Linked DNA regions of Homo sapiens: region 1 is linked to region 2. The links are contacts of gene promoters, found by promoter capture Hi-C in blood cells and fetal thymus (Javierre and others, 2016). All regions are on one chromosome and are shown on one strand. Each heading gives the region's core, a stretch centred on a gene start or on the middle of the fragment in contact. The rest is flanking DNA. Distances are from core to core; before and after follow the strand shown.

Evidence for each region. The method cuts DNA at HindIII sites, captures the fragments that hold promoters and counts their contacts. A CHiCAGO score of 5 or more calls a contact.
Region 1: the fragment with the promoter of PER3 here is called in contact with the fragment with the promoter of ZBTB48 in region 2 in 2 of 17 cell types (M0 macrophages and neutrophils); the score reaches 6.9 in M0 macrophages.

Annotation. Positions count from the first base shown.
Region 1 is chr1:7,778,509-7,785,561 of GRCh38, forward strand. PER3 (period circadian regulator 3) reads left to right here and starts at 5,783. Exons shown (of 22, transcript NM_001377275.1): 1 at 5,783-5,868; 2 at 6,146-6,497; 3 at 6,933-7,053. The coding sequence starts at 6,370. VAMP3 (vesicle associated membrane protein 3) reads left to right here. Exons shown (of 5, transcript NM_004781.4): 5 at 1,118-2,924. The coding sequence ends at 1,137. RefSeq lists a silencer at 5,249-5,858. The HindIII fragment of the contact is 8,097 bases long and covers 1,802-7,053 here.
Region 2 is chr1:6,573,739-6,581,243 of GRCh38, forward strand. ZBTB48 (zinc finger and BTB domain containing 48) reads left to right here and starts at 6,256. Exons shown (of 11, transcript NM_005341.4): 1 at 6,256-6,398; 2 at 6,803-7,505. The coding sequence starts at 6,872. TAS1R1 (taste 1 receptor member 1) reads left to right here. Exons shown (of 6, transcript NM_138697.4): 3 at 893-1,654; 4 at 2,677-2,889; 5 at 3,212-3,332; 6 at 4,915-6,017. The coding sequence ends at 5,846. LOC107984912 (a long non-coding RNA gene) reads right to left here and starts at 5,695. Exons shown (of 3, transcript XR_002958250.1): 1 at 5,609-5,695. RefSeq lists an enhancer at 5,640-6,339 and a silencer at 6,391-6,520. The HindIII fragment of the contact is 12,295 bases long and covers 1,498-7,505 here.

The DNA.
Region 1 (7,053 bases), core at 4,533-7,032, 1.2 Mb after region 2:
GGGTGACAGAGTGAGACCTTTTCTCAAAAAAAAAAAAGAAAGGTTCATTTATTCCAAGGTTTTCAGTTTTCTTTAATAAATGTTTTAAGTACTTGAGTTTTGTATAAGTCTGAGATTTGATACAAACATTAATCCTTTGAAGTTAGAGAAAATCTATTCATTTCCACTTCTTTTCTCTGAATATATTTTTTTCACATATTTCCTTTTATGTAATGTAGTGGTTAAAAGCATGGAGTGCCTGTGATCCATCCTGGCTCCACCACCATCCAGCTGTATGGCCGTGGACAAGCAATTTAATATCTCTGGGTTTCTGTTTCCTCATTTGTAAAATGGGGATAATAATAGTCCCTGTCTTGTTTGTTTGTTTGTTTGTTAAAGGACAGATCTGGTAAATATATAAAAATTGGCCGGGCTTGGTGGCGCACGCCTGTAATCCCAGCACTTTGGGAGGCTGAGGCGGGCAGATCACGAGGTCAGGAGATCAAGACCATCCTGGCTAACACGGTGAAACCCCGTCTCTACTAAAAATACAAAAAATTAGCCGGGTGTGGTCGCGGGCGCCTGTAGTCCCAGCTACTGGGGAGGCTGAGGCAGGAGAATGGCATGAACCCGGGAGGCGGAGCTTGCAGTGAGCCAAGATCATGCCACTGCACTCCAGCCTAGGTGACAGAGCAAGTCTCCGTCTCAAAAAAATAAATAAATAAAATAAATAAAAATTGCTTAGGTTGGTGCCTGGCATATAATAATAAAAATAATAGCTATATAAATAATATATATGTATACACAAACACACACACAACTATTATTATATAATATTCAAACAACTCACTGCCATCGGTAGCCCAGTATATGAGAACCGAAACATGACTTCTTTCATTGATAGATGGATGTTAGTGGATGTTTCCTTTTAGCAGGAAGGTACAGTTACTTGGATCCTTTTGACTCTAGTCTCCTTCCTCTAGCCCTCTATAGAATGGAGAGAAGCCAGTAGTAGGAAATCAGCCCAGTCTAATTTCTGATCACATTTAGACTGCAGCATTGGATGTTGGCTTGGGATTCACACTGAGAGACTAACCTGCTGTTTCCCCTGCCTTTTTGCATCTCTCCTCCTTCTTAGTGTGGGTTGTCTCTTCATGAAGAACCAGCGGAACTCAAAACTGCTGTTCAAGAAACCTCTTCAAGACTTTTGACTTAGAACCTGCTATATTATCAAGCTTACCTACTGTTATCTCTAAAATTTTTTTTGTGTTAATGTAAAGTTGAATTTCTAGGAAACGTGCCTTTGTTTTTTAATATGCACTCCAAATTAGAAGGCCGGCCCCGTCCACATTTTGCACAGTGCCTTTACAGATTTACGTATGGGCTGATGAAGAGGCCTTCTTAAGTTCCAGAGTGCTATAATCTAGATGTAATGTTGTCACTAATTAATTGCCATTACTCCCAGTTAGTTACCCTTGTCATTTGGCATTATTTTCAGAACCACATTTTAAACCTTTGGGTAATCAGATTTCCAACTTATGCCTTCCAGAAAAAAACACTACTGCCTAACACAAATCTGTGATAACAACAGGCTGTGCCTTATTTTGATAATTTTCTGATTCCCTAGAAGAGAACCCTCTACTTTTTGTAAGCACTACTGACTCTCGCTGTATTTAAGATGCTGGTGAAGAGCTTTTGCTCTTGCATTAGATTTGAAGATGTTTACATTGTTGTTATTGTTATGTATCACTTGCTAAAAATATTGTTTTAATCAGAGATAACCTCTTTAAAAAAATTTTTAAAGAACTATGGCTATGACCAAAGCTTCTATTTTGCCAAAAAGTTAAATACCGATAAAATGGCCTTAAGTGTATTCCTGACAGTTAAATTCAGAAACGTGCCAAATGGAACTCAAGGTGCCCCTTCAGAATTAAAATCATTACCTTGTGTGTGAACCTTCTACATCTTCATAGGCCTTTCTTCCTTTTGAAAGGCTGTAGACAGTGTGGCTCCCCTTCTGATTCAGTATTTTGCATGGGGGTTAGAGAAGGTTTGAGGTAGACTCTGACCGTCTCATAAAAGAGTTCTACCCAGCAGTTGGCAGATTATCAGCTGTGGACTCCAGCATGTTTCTGATAATTATGCAAGCAACAATTCTGTAGCCTCAAGTAAGACCACCTGTGAACTTGATCATTATCTGGCCCAAATATGAAGATAAACTATAACTTTGGAGTTTGTTTCCTATTTGTATTCACATTCTGCTTCCTAAATCAGTTTTCTAAATTATGCCTGCAATTAGGCATTGGTCAGGGGTGAATGGCTCTTTTCACAGAGAGTAGCCAACCAGAGACCTTTGCTTTGATATCATCAACTGCAGAGAATGCTGTTGATGGGAATGCTGGAAGCAGAAACTTTGTCATCGGAAAAACTTTTCTTGTATGCATGAGACTCAACATCAGGATCCACAGCTTAAAGATGGGAATTCAGGTATGAAAGAAAACAGGCAAGGAGGCACTGAGGGAGAAAGACACAGACTTTATCGCTCTGTGGCTCATTGTTACTGGAATATTCTAAAACTCTTGTTCACATGCTATTATGACTTATAAAGCAGCAACAGCTGAGGCGCACCAGGACACAGCTTCCATTTCTTTAACGTCTGTTCCCTTAACATCGCTGAAATGATTTACTGTTGAAGAGATGCCTTGCGGTGTGGCCAGCTGTGAGGAGAAAGCAGCTGGCAGTGTTAGGACATTAGTCCACCTTCAGCGCAGGGTCTCTGGCCGGGTCTGACTCAGAAACCTTGGTACTCGCCCCTTGGCCACAGTGCCCAGACCCATGTAACCCACTGGCTCCTGCATTAACCCAGAAATACCTCGCTTCTATCTGTGCACTTAGCTGGGAACTTACCCACTGTAATCACCTAAATAAAGTGTTTATAAACATGATTGTGGCACCTGTGCTCCTTGTAGAGGAATAGCTGCACCTGGTCCGAGTCCTAAAAATGCCATTCCTTGCTGCTCCCCATACCTGTCCCTTAGAAGCCCCGAAACTGTCTCCCCCTTTTCTCACCAGCCCCTCTCTAGGTACTCTACCCTTTTGGTACCCAGCATTTCCGCATACCCCAGTGAACAGAAGAAAACCGCTCCCCTTGTGAAAAGTGCTTTTTAGTATAGGCGATGAGGAGGAAACTGGCTTTTACACAATTACCAAAATTCAGGATGTGGCTTTGGAGTTCCCTAAATAGATGGTCTTTCTAAAGTGATGTGCAGAGCCGACCCCGTCTGTGGTAGACTAGATGGCTGCTGGCATGGACCCTGGGATAGATGAGTGGATAGGTGAGGGACATCCCCAGACACATGGCTCTGTTCCTGTAGATCCTTTTTTCCTCATGAATGTATTTCCATTCTTATCGTAGAACCCCTAGGAAACAATATAATACGGGTGGAAGAGGACTTTTGCTTATGTTTACAATAGGAAAATCCAAGTCCCTTTCCCGAATTACAGGTCCCACGATGATCTGGTCCTTTCTAGTTTTCTGACTTCATGTCACACGACTCTCCAGCTCTCTCTTCTCCAAGCAAGGTACTCCACCAAAGTATAGCTGTTGACATCGGAGAGACTTGTGCCCATGAGACTTTCAACATCAGGGTGTGGCTTGAAGGCCAGAGTTAGCTATGAATGAAAACAGGCAAGGAAGCCCTGAGGGAGAAATGGACCTGATAAAGTTTGTTTCGGTTTCTCATCAGCAAACTGACTTCTTTCCAAAGGTCTTCTGCAGGTACTTTCAGCTCTGCCGGGTCTACTTCCTCACCCGCGGCAGGCGCCTCTCATCTCAGGTTGAAATCCGCCTTCCCCACTCGCGGCAGGCGCCTCTCATCTCAGGTTGAAATCCGCCTTCCCAGAGGCCTGCCCTGCTGATCTGACTAAGCAGGCTCTGGCCTCCCCACTCCACCTTTCTCCCAGTTACTCTTCCTTCCAGTAGTTTGTTTTCTACACATCGCTTTAGGCTTTATGAACTTGTTTATGGGGTTGTTTGTATGGCTTTCTCAATAAAACGTCAACTCCCTGGGTGGCAGGGACTTTGGGCCACTGTTCTATCCGCTGGGATTCCAAGCGTCCCTACCCAGATCTGCACGCAATAAATGCTTGCTGAACGAATGCAGTTTGACAAAACCCAGCTTCGGAGGAGAGCAAGCCAACCTAGAGTATCGCTTGGAAGATATAAGGTGGTTTATTCAATACCTAACATGAACACTCACCTCACTTTTCCCCTCTTCCTTTACATACAATTTCATCCATCCAACAAATACTGAATATTTTTTCTGTACCAGGCAGCGAAGAGGGGCGGCACTCTGCACTGTACCTTTCATTTCTAACATGTTGAGATACTAAACTGAGCTTTCAGACATTTTTTTTAAAGGGCTCTACAACTTCTTTTCTGAAACAGAGTGTCTTTTACGTTTGTCTTCCTCCAGTTGCCAAATGAATCTAATTTTAGGAAGTGCAGGGAAGTGTTTTAAGTTCCACCGTCAAAATTCTGTTTCTGGGCCGGTGCAGTGGCTCACGCCAGTAATCCCAACATTTTGGGAGACCGAGGCCAGCAGATCACTGGGGCTTAGGAGTTTGAGAACAGCCTGGCTAACACAGACCATCTTTACCAAAAACACAAAAATTAGCCAGGTGTGGTGGCTGCACCTGTAGTTCCAGCTACTCGGGAGGCTGAAGCAGGAAACTGGCTTGAGCCCAGAAGACGGAGGTTGCAGTGAGCCAAAATCGCGCCACTGCACTCCATCCAGCCTGGACAACAGAGCAAAACCCTGTCTCAAAAAATAAAAAATCTGTTTCTAAAAATCGGGTGGGCTTTTTACCAGGGCTGCTTTATGGCCCGGTTCCTCCAAGTCCACCCCACTCACCGAAAGAGTTAGCGGAGGATGGGGGCGGTTGGGGTGGGCTCGGTAGGTCACGGGCGGTGAAAACCGTGGGAACCCAGAAAGACGGCCAAAGCACGATGAGGACCGCTGCCGGCAGCCCGCCCCACCCTGGGCTCCTCCCCACACCCGCTCGGGCAGCCGGGAGCCACCTACAAACTCCAGGACTCGACCCCAGAGCGCTGGCCTGAGCCGCCCCTGCTCGCCCCCAGTCCCCGCCTCTCCCTCCCTCTAATGCCCCCGCCCTCGACACCGTCGCCCCCCCGCCCCTGCCTCTCGCTCCCCACGTCTCTCGGCACCCCCGCTCCCATCCGCCCCCCCGTCCCCGCCTCTCGCCCCCATCCGTCCCCATTTCCAGCCTCCCCCTGACCCCGACTCAAGCCCCCCGACTCCGCCTCTCGCCCCTCTCTGCCCCCGCCTCTCACTCCCCTCTCCTTCCCCGCCCGCCTCTCACGTGGAGGTTGGGCCGGACCCGCCCCGCCCCACAGAGCCCGGGTCCCGCCCCCACGTGGCTGGCAGCTTCCTGGCCCTATCATTTCTGCGCTGGCTTCAGCGGCTCCGCCCCGGCGCCGTGCCAGGGGGCCGGACACTCCAGTCGCGCGGCACAGGCCTGAGGCCGCTGAGGGCCACCCCGTCCCCTGCCCGCCCGCCGGCCTGCTGGGATTGGCCGAGCGCCGGCCTCCGCCCGAGCCCGCGCGTTATGTAACGCGCCCCGGGGGCCCCGCCCCCTCGCCCTGGCTTATATAACCCGGGCGCACCGGCTCGCGCCCCGCCCCAGGGCCAATGGAGGCCTGCGGAGTCGGCCCCGACGACCAATCGCACGGCCCGGGGGCGGGACCGGTCACGCGGCGGCAGGGGGCGCGGCGCCGGCTGCTGACCGGCACGCGGCGAGCCTCGAGACTGCGCGAGGGCGGCCCCGGGGGCGAGCGGCTGTGCGCGGGGCCAAGGGCGGGGGCAGCAGGTGAGTGCGCGGCCGGGCGGGAGTTCTGGGCGGCCGGGCGGGAGTTCTGGGCACTCGCGCGCGGCAGAGGAGCCCCGCGAGCCCTGCCCTCGGTACTGGGGGCCCCCGGAGCGTGGCGCTTCCGAGCCACCCGCCTCCCCGGGCCCCATCCCTCGGCGCGCGGGAAAGTTGGGGCAGGGGTGAGGACCGCGCGGTCGGGGCGCCCCAGCCAGCCGGGCCGCTGGCGTCGGACTGTCTGTTCCATTTGTCCCTTGTCACCCTTGTCTCCTCCCCCTAGGCCGGAGTCCTGAAAGTCGAGCGAGCTCCGGGTTTTGAAAATGTTGGAGGGAAAAGCTCCTCGGAGATGAGCGTGACCCCCTGGCTCGTGGTGGCCGCCTGTTCTCACTAACGCCATGGCGGGGACCGGAGTGAGAAACCGGTGTCTGTCACTGACTGCAAAGTGAGCGAGAAGCAGGCTGCGGGCCGTCCCAGCACGACGTGGAGCCCCGCGGAGACCTCGAGATGCCCCGCGGGGAAGCTCCTGGCCCCGGGAGACGGGGGGCTAAGGACGAGGCCCTGGGCGAAGAATCGGGGGAGCGGTGGAGCCCCGAGTTCCATCTGCAGAGGAAATTGGCGGACAGCAGCCACAGGTGACGCGCTGGCTTCAGGCCGAGGGCCCCATGCGTTCGTTGTCCTTCCCTGGAGCAGGGAAAGGGGGACCTAAATCTTTTTATTCTTTTGTTTTCAAGCCCAGGGGAAAGTGTAAAGGGGAGACTCGGGCAATGTAGGATGAAGTGATCCGTGACACTGAAGAAAATTACCGAAGAGTATCAGGAGGGAAAAGTGGTTACAAAAGTTAGCTGAGTTGGGGCTCAAGTGGATTAAGGGAAAGTAAGTGGAGAATGTTTGTCATTCACCAGTTGCTTTGCCTCGAGTTCCCCACCTAGAGGAAGAGGGGTCACCACCCTGTGGACTGATGCCGGTAGAGCACTTAGAAACTTACCTGGCTTGCAGTTTGTGTTCCCTAAGCCGCAAGATGCTGTTGTCTTCAGAGGATGAAGTTGTAATTTTTTTTTATCTTCCAGTGAACAGCAAGATCGAAACAGAGTTTCTGAAGAACTTATCATGGTTGTCCAAGAAATGAAAAAATACTTCCCCTCGGAGAGACGCAATAAACCAAGCACTCTAGATGCCCTCAACTATGCT
Region 2 (7,505 bases), core at 5,006-7,505:
TGCAAGCTCCGCCTCCCGGGTTCACGCCATTCTCCTGCCTCAGCCTCCCGTGTAGCTGGGACTACAGGCGCGCGCCACCATGCCCGGCTAATTTTTTTGTATTTTTAGTAGAGACGGGGTTTCACCGTGTTAGCCAGGCTGGTCGCAAACTCCTAACCTCGTGATCCACCCACCTCGGCCTCCCAATGTGCTGGGATTACAGGTGTGAGCCACTGCACCCGGCCATAATGTATTAATATAATAAAATAATTATACAACTCACCATAATGTAGAATCAGTGGGAGCCCTGAGCTTGTTTTCCTACAACTAGATGGTCCCATCTGGGGGTGATGGGAGACAGTGACAGATCATCAGACATTAGATTCTCATAAGTAGCGTGCAACCCAGATCCCTCGCATGTGCAGTTCACAGTAGGGTTCAAGCTCCTACAAGAATCTGATGCTGCTGCTGATCTGACAGGAGGGGAGCAGCTGTAAATACAGATGAAGCTTCGCTTACTCACCAGCTGCTCACCTCCTCCTGTGAGGCCCGGTTCCTAACAGGCCACTGACCTAACTTCTGCCCTGACCTACACATGCTTCTCTTCTTCCTTGCAAACTGCCTCCAGTGGAAGTCCCTGAAGGTCCCCAAACACACGGGACTATTTCACTCCTATGCAGGTTTTGTCTCCTTTGCTTGGAATGCATCCCCTCACCCCTTGTCCCCAGGCAGATTCCCACCCCTCCCCCAGAACCTGCCCCAGTGGAGCCTTCGCAGGTGATTTGTCAGTTTCACAGGCTGAGGGGTGCTCTCCTGGTCTCCCCGGCTCCCTGTATCCCCACACCCAGCACAGGGCCAGGCACTGGGGGGGCCTTCAGTGGAGACTGAAATGGCTGAACGGGACCTCCCATAGATTAGCTATGCGGCCAGCAGCGAGACGCTCAGCGTGAAGCGGCAGTATCCCTCTTTCCTGCGCACCATCCCCAATGACAAGTACCAGGTGGAGACCATGGTGCTGCTGCTGCAGAAGTTCGGGTGGACCTGGATCTCTCTGGTTGGCAGCAGTGACGACTATGGGCAGCTAGGGGTGCAGGCACTGGAGAACCAGGCCACTGGTCAGGGGATCTGCATTGCTTTCAAGGACATCATGCCCTTCTCTGCCCAGGTGGGCGATGAGAGGATGCAGTGCCTCATGCGCCACCTGGCCCAGGCCGGGGCCACCGTCGTGGTTGTTTTTTCCAGCCGGCAGTTGGCCAGGGTGTTTTTCGAGTCCGTGGTGCTGACCAACCTGACTGGCAAGGTGTGGGTCGCCTCAGAAGCCTGGGCCCTCTCCAGGCACATCACTGGGGTGCCCGGGATCCAGCGCATTGGGATGGTGCTGGGCGTGGCCATCCAGAAGAGGGCTGTCCCTGGCCTGAAGGCGTTTGAAGAAGCCTATGCCCGGGCAGACAAGAAGGCCCCTAGGCCTTGCCACAAGGGCTCCTGGTGCAGCAGCAATCAGCTCTGCAGAGAATGCCAAGCTTTCATGGCACACACGATGCCCAAGCTCAAAGCCTTCTCCATGAGTTCTGCCTACAACGCATACCGGGCTGTGTATGCGGTGGCCCATGGCCTCCACCAGCTCCTGGGCTGTGCCTCTGGAGCTTGTTCCAGGGGCCGAGTCTACCCCTGGCAGGTAAGAGAGCCCACCCCAGCACCTCCTGTCAGGGAGAACAGCCAATCCTGAGATGAGCAGAGTGGGCACTCTCCGGTCACTCTAAATGCCAAGGGGGATAAATGCCACTAACTTGAGGTTTTTTGTTTTGTTTTGTTTTGTTTTTTGAGACAGTCTGGCTCTGTCACCCAGGCTGCAGTGTAGTGATGCGATCTCGGCTCTCTGCAACTTCCACCTCCTGGGTTCAAGTGATTCTCTTGCCTCGGCCTCCTGAGTAGCTGGGATTACAGGCACCCACCACCATGCCTGGATAATTTTTCTTTTCTTTTTTTTTTTTTTGAGATAGAGTCTCGCTCTGTTGCCCAGGCTGGAATGCAGTGGTGCGATCTTGGCTCACTGTGAGCTCCGCCTCCCAGGTTCACTCCATTCCCCTGCCTCAGCCTCCCAAGTAGGTGGGACTACGGGCGCCCGCCACCACGCCCAGCTAATTTTTTTTGTATTTTGAGTAGAGACGGGGTTTCACCATGTTAGCCAGGATGGTCTCAATCTCCTGACCTTGTCATCCGCCCACCTCGTCCTCCCAAAGTGCTGGGATTACAGGCGTGAGCCACCGCACCCGGCCTAATTTTTGTATTTTTAGTAGAGATGGGGTTTCACCATGTTGGCCAGGCTGGTCTCGAACTCCTGGCATCAAGTGATCCTCCTGCTTCGGCCTCCCAAAGTGCTGGGATTACAGGCATTAGCTCTCTTCTCTTAGACAGATCTTTCTCTCTGATCCTTGCCTTCTCTCACCCACTGTGTCTTGGAAGTGTCAAGTGATAAGATCCAGGGCTAAAACTGTCTGTAAAGGAGTGTTTGTTAGAGGCCTCCTCTCAGGAGGTTGGTGGGGAAGATTGAGGGGCTTCCTAAGAAGGAAGGGACGAGACCTTCCTGATGGGCTGAAACCACCAGGACGGAAACCCAGGAAGGCCCCAGGCCCTTGCTTCTGGGACCATGTGGGTCTGTGCTGTCTGTGGTGGCTTCATGATACGCGTTTCTTTCAGCTTTTGGAGCAGATCCACAAGGTGCATTTCCTTCTACACAAGGACACTGTGGCGTTTAATGACAACAGAGATCCCCTCAGTAGCTATAACATAATTGCCTGGGACTGGAATGGACCCAAGTGGACCTTCACGGTCCTCGGTTCCTCCACATGGTCTCCAGTTCAGCTAAACATAAATGAGACCAAAATCCAGTGGCACGGAAAGGACAACCAGGTAATGGGGATGTGGCTACTCACCATGTAACTGGCTTATGGGCAACCTAGAGCCTGGGGGTGATGCTGACACAGTGTACAGGGAGCAGGAGGGGGGCCCCAGGGGTCCAGCTGCCACCACTCTACCCATCCTGGCCAGGGAAGCAGGGAAGACACTCCGTAGGCGAGTGTGCAGATGCCCTGGGGCGGAAGTTCACACGACCAGGGGCCCTGCCCTGGGAGTGAGCCCTGAGGGCAGATGCACAGAGATTCTGTTTTCTGTTCCACATGTGAGCTGTCCTTTGACTTGGGCCCCTACGTGTGGCCCCTCTGGCTTCTTACAGGTGCCTAAGTCTGTGTGTTCCAGCGACTGTCTTGAAGGGCACCAGCGAGTGGTTACGGGTTTCCATCACTGCTGCTTTGAGTGTGTGCCCTGTGGGGCTGGGACCTTCCTCAACAAGAGTGGTGAGTGGGCAATGGAGCAGGCGAGCTACCCAGCACTCCCGGGGGCTGCACGGTGGAGGGAGGGCCTCCCTTGGGCCCCATGTGCCCTGCCCCAGAACCAAGGCCCAGTCACTGGGCTGCCAGTTAGCTTCAGGTTGGAGGACACCTGCTACCAGACAGAATTCTGATCAAGAGAATCAGCCACTGGGTGCGGTGGCTCATGCCTGTAATCCCAGCACTTTGGGAGGCTGAGGCGGGTGGATCACTTGAGGTCGGGAGTTCGAGACCAGCCTGGCCAACATGGTGAAACCCCATCTCTACCAAAAATATAAAAAATTAGCTGGGTGTGGTGGCGCGTGCCTGTAATCCCAGCTACTCGGGAGGCTGAGGCAGGAGAATCACTTGAACCCAGGAGGCGGAGGTTGCAGTGAGCCAAGATGCATTCCAGCCTGGACCACAAAGCGAGAATTCGTCCCCCCAAAAAAAGAAAGGAGGCCGGGCGCGGTGGCTCACACCTGTAATCCCAGCACTTTGGGAGGCCGAGGTGGGTGGATCACCTGAGGTCAGGAGTTCGAGACCAGCCTGACCAACATGGTGAAACCCCATCTCTACTAAAAATACAAAAAAAGTTAGCCGGGCGTTGTGGCGTGTGCCTGTAATTCCAGCTACTCGGGAGGCTGAGGCAGGAGAATTGCTTGAACCCGGGAGGCGGAGGTTGCAGTGAGCCAAGATTGCACCATTGCACTCCAGCCTGGGCGACAAGAGAAAAACTCTGTCTCAAAAAAAAAGAAAGAAAGAAAGAATTAGCCAACTGAAAGCCTTAGACTGAGGTGTGTCCTCTGTTAGAGAGCTGTCATCACAACTCCTACAAAAGCAGTCGTATCCTGAATTCAACCTCTTTCTCTAAATGAATATAGCTATTGTTCCCTTTGTGCCCTCTTGTCCTACTGTCCCTTCTGTTGCCCATGCCAAAGACAGCTAGCTCCTTGAACAGCTTGGCCTGAATACAGATACTAGCGTGTCTGCAGCAGAGAAAAAAACAGCATTCCCCATCCAGAAATGCAAGGTCAAGAACAGAGAGCAAATTAGGTAGCTAAGGACTCAGGTCCTTAGTTGGTGTCCAGGGGCCACATTCTTTCCTTTCACCATCTCTGTAGGGACAGGAATACTTCCCTTCTGTCCTCAGAGGGTCAGGACTCAGAGAAACCACAGAGCAGCAGCTCAGGAAAGTGGTTCATGGAAATGCTGGCAAGAGAGAGGGGTTACAATGCCCTCCCTTGGGAGCAGGCTGCTCCCATCAGATCGTAACCTCTCTGGTATGTGGGCAGAGCTACCAGGTTAAGGTCCTCCCTAGGGTTTGCAAAACCCTCATGGGATCATGAGCCATACAGAACCGACCTGTGTGTCTCCAGAGTCTGTAATTAACACAGGCATTTTGAGGAAATGCGTGGCCTCAGGCCCCACTCCCGGCTACCCCCATCCCACTATGCCTAGTATAGTCTAGCTGCCCTGGTACAATTCTCCCAGTATCTTGCAGGCCCCTATTTCCTATTCCTACTCTGCTCATCTGGCTCTCAGGAACCTTCTTGGCCTTCCCTTTCAGACCTCTACAGATGCCAGCCTTGTGGGAAAGAAGAGTGGGCACCTGAGGGAAGCCAGACCTGCTTCCCGCGCACTGTGGTGTTTTTGGCTTTGCGTGAGCACACCTCTTGGGTGCTGCTGGCAGCTAACACGCTGCTGCTGCTGCTGCTGCTTGGGACTGCTGGCCTGTTTGCCTGGCACCTAGACACCCCTGTGGTGAGGTCAGCAGGGGGCCGCCTGTGCTTTCTTATGCTGGGCTCCCTGGCAGCAGGTAGTGGCAGCCTCTATGGCTTCTTTGGGGAACCCACAAGGCCTGCGTGCTTGCTACGCCAGGCCCTCTTTGCCCTTGGTTTCACCATCTTCCTGTCCTGCCTGACAGTTCGCTCATTCCAACTAATCATCATCTTCAAGTTTTCCACCAAGGTACCTACATTCTACCACGCCTGGGTCCAAAACCACGGTGCTGGCCTGTTTGTGATGATCAGCTCAGCGGCCCAGCTGCTTATCTGTCTAACTTGGCTGGTGGTGTGGACCCCACTGCCTGCTAGGGAATACCAGCGCTTCCCCCATCTGGTGATGCTTGAGTGCACAGAGACCAACTCCCTGGGCTTCATACTGGCCTTCCTCTACAATGGCCTCCTCTCCATCAGTGCCTTTGCCTGCAGCTACCTGGGTAAGGACTTGCCAGAGAACTACAACGAGGCCAAATGTGTCACCTTCAGCCTGCTCTTCAACTTCGTGTCCTGGATCGCCTTCTTCACCACGGCCAGCGTCTACGACGGCAAGTACCTGCCTGCGGCCAACATGATGGCTGGGCTGAGCAGCCTGAGCAGCGGCTTCGGTGGGTATTTTCTGCCTAAGTGCTACGTGATCCTCTGCCGCCCAGACCTCAACAGCACAGAGCACTTCCAGGCCTCCATTCAGGACTACACGAGGCGCTGCGGCTCCACCTGACCAGTGGGTCAGCAGGCACGGCTGGCAGCCTTCTCTGCCCTGAGGGTCGAAGGTCGAGCAGGCCGGGGGTGTCCGGGAGGTCTTTGGGCATCGCGGTCTGGGGTTGGGACGTGTAAGCGCCTGGGAGAGCCTAGACCAGGCTCCGGGCTGCCAATAAAGAAGTGAAATGCGTATCTGGTCTCCTGTCGTGGGAGAGTGTGAGGTGTAACGGATTCAAGTCTGAACCCAGAGCCTGGAAAAGGCTGACCGCCCAGATTGACGTTGCTAGGCAACTCCGGAGGCGGGCCCAGCGCCAAAAGAACAGGGCGAGGCGTCGTCCCCGCATCCCATTGGCCGTTCTCTGCGGGGCCCCGCCCTCGGGGGCCGGAGCTAGAAGCTCTACGCTTCCGAGGCGCACCTCCTGGCCTGCACGCTTTGACGTCACGTCCGGCGCGGAGACGGTGGAGTCTCCGCACTGTCGGCGGGGTACGCATAGCCGGGCACTAGGTTCGTGGGCTGTGGAGGCGACGGAGCAGGGGGCCAGTGGGGCCAGCTCAGGGAGGACCTGCCTGGGTGAGGAGGGCGCGGGGTGAGGGAGGGAGGGGCTGCGGGCCGCCGTGGCTGCCTTCCGCTCGGCCGCTCGGGACCTGTGGGCGCGGCGTGGGCTTCGCTCACCTGTCCCCGGCTGCCGCCCTCCGCCGTCCGGGATCCTCTCACTGTGCCGGGCCAGTCCGTTCGCTCTCATCCCATGTCTCCTTTCCCCAAACTTGGATTTTTCTCACCAGGCCCTTCTTCACGACCCTGGCCCCCCATCCAGCATCCCCCCTGGCCAATCCAATATGGCCCCCGGCCCCCGGGAGGCTGTCAGTGTGTTCCAGCCCTCCGCGTGCACCCCTCACCCTGACCCAAGCCCTCGTGCTGATAAATATGATTATTTGAGTAGAGGCCAACTTCCCGTTTCTCTCTCTTGACTCCAGGAGCTTTCTCTTGCATACCCTCGCTTAGGCTGGCCGGGGTGTCACTTCTGCCTCCCTGCCCTCCAGACCATGGACGGCTCCTTCGTCCAGCACAGTGTGAGGGTTCTGCAGGAGCTCAACAAGCAGCGGGAGAAGGGCCAGTACTGCGACGCCACTCTGGACGTGGGGGGCCTGGTGTTTAAGGCACACTGGAGTGTCCTTGCCTGCTGCAGTCACTTTTTCCAGAGCCTCTACGGGGATGGCTCAGGGGGCAGTGTCGTCCTCCCTGCTGGCTTCGCTGAGATCTTTGGCCTCTTGTTGGACTTTTTCTACACTGGTCACCTCGCTCTCACCTCAGGGAACCGGGATCAGGTGCTCCTGGCAGCCAGGGAGTTGCGAGTGCCAGAGGCCGTAGAGCTGTGCCAGAGCTTCAAGCCCAAAACTTCAGTGGGACAGGCAGCAGGTGGCCAGAGTGGGCTGGGGCCCCCTGCCTCCCAGAATGTGAACAGCCACGTCAAGGAGCCGGCAGGCTTGGAAGAAGAGGAAGTTTCGAGGACTCTGGGTCTAGTCCCCAGGGATCAGGAGCCCAGAGGCAGTCATAGTCCTCAGAGGCCCCAGCTCCATTCCCCAGCTCAGAGTGAGGGCCCCTCCTCCCTCTGTGGGAAACTGAAGCAGGCCTTGAAGCCTTGTCCCCTTGAGGACAAGAAACCCGAGGACTGCAAAG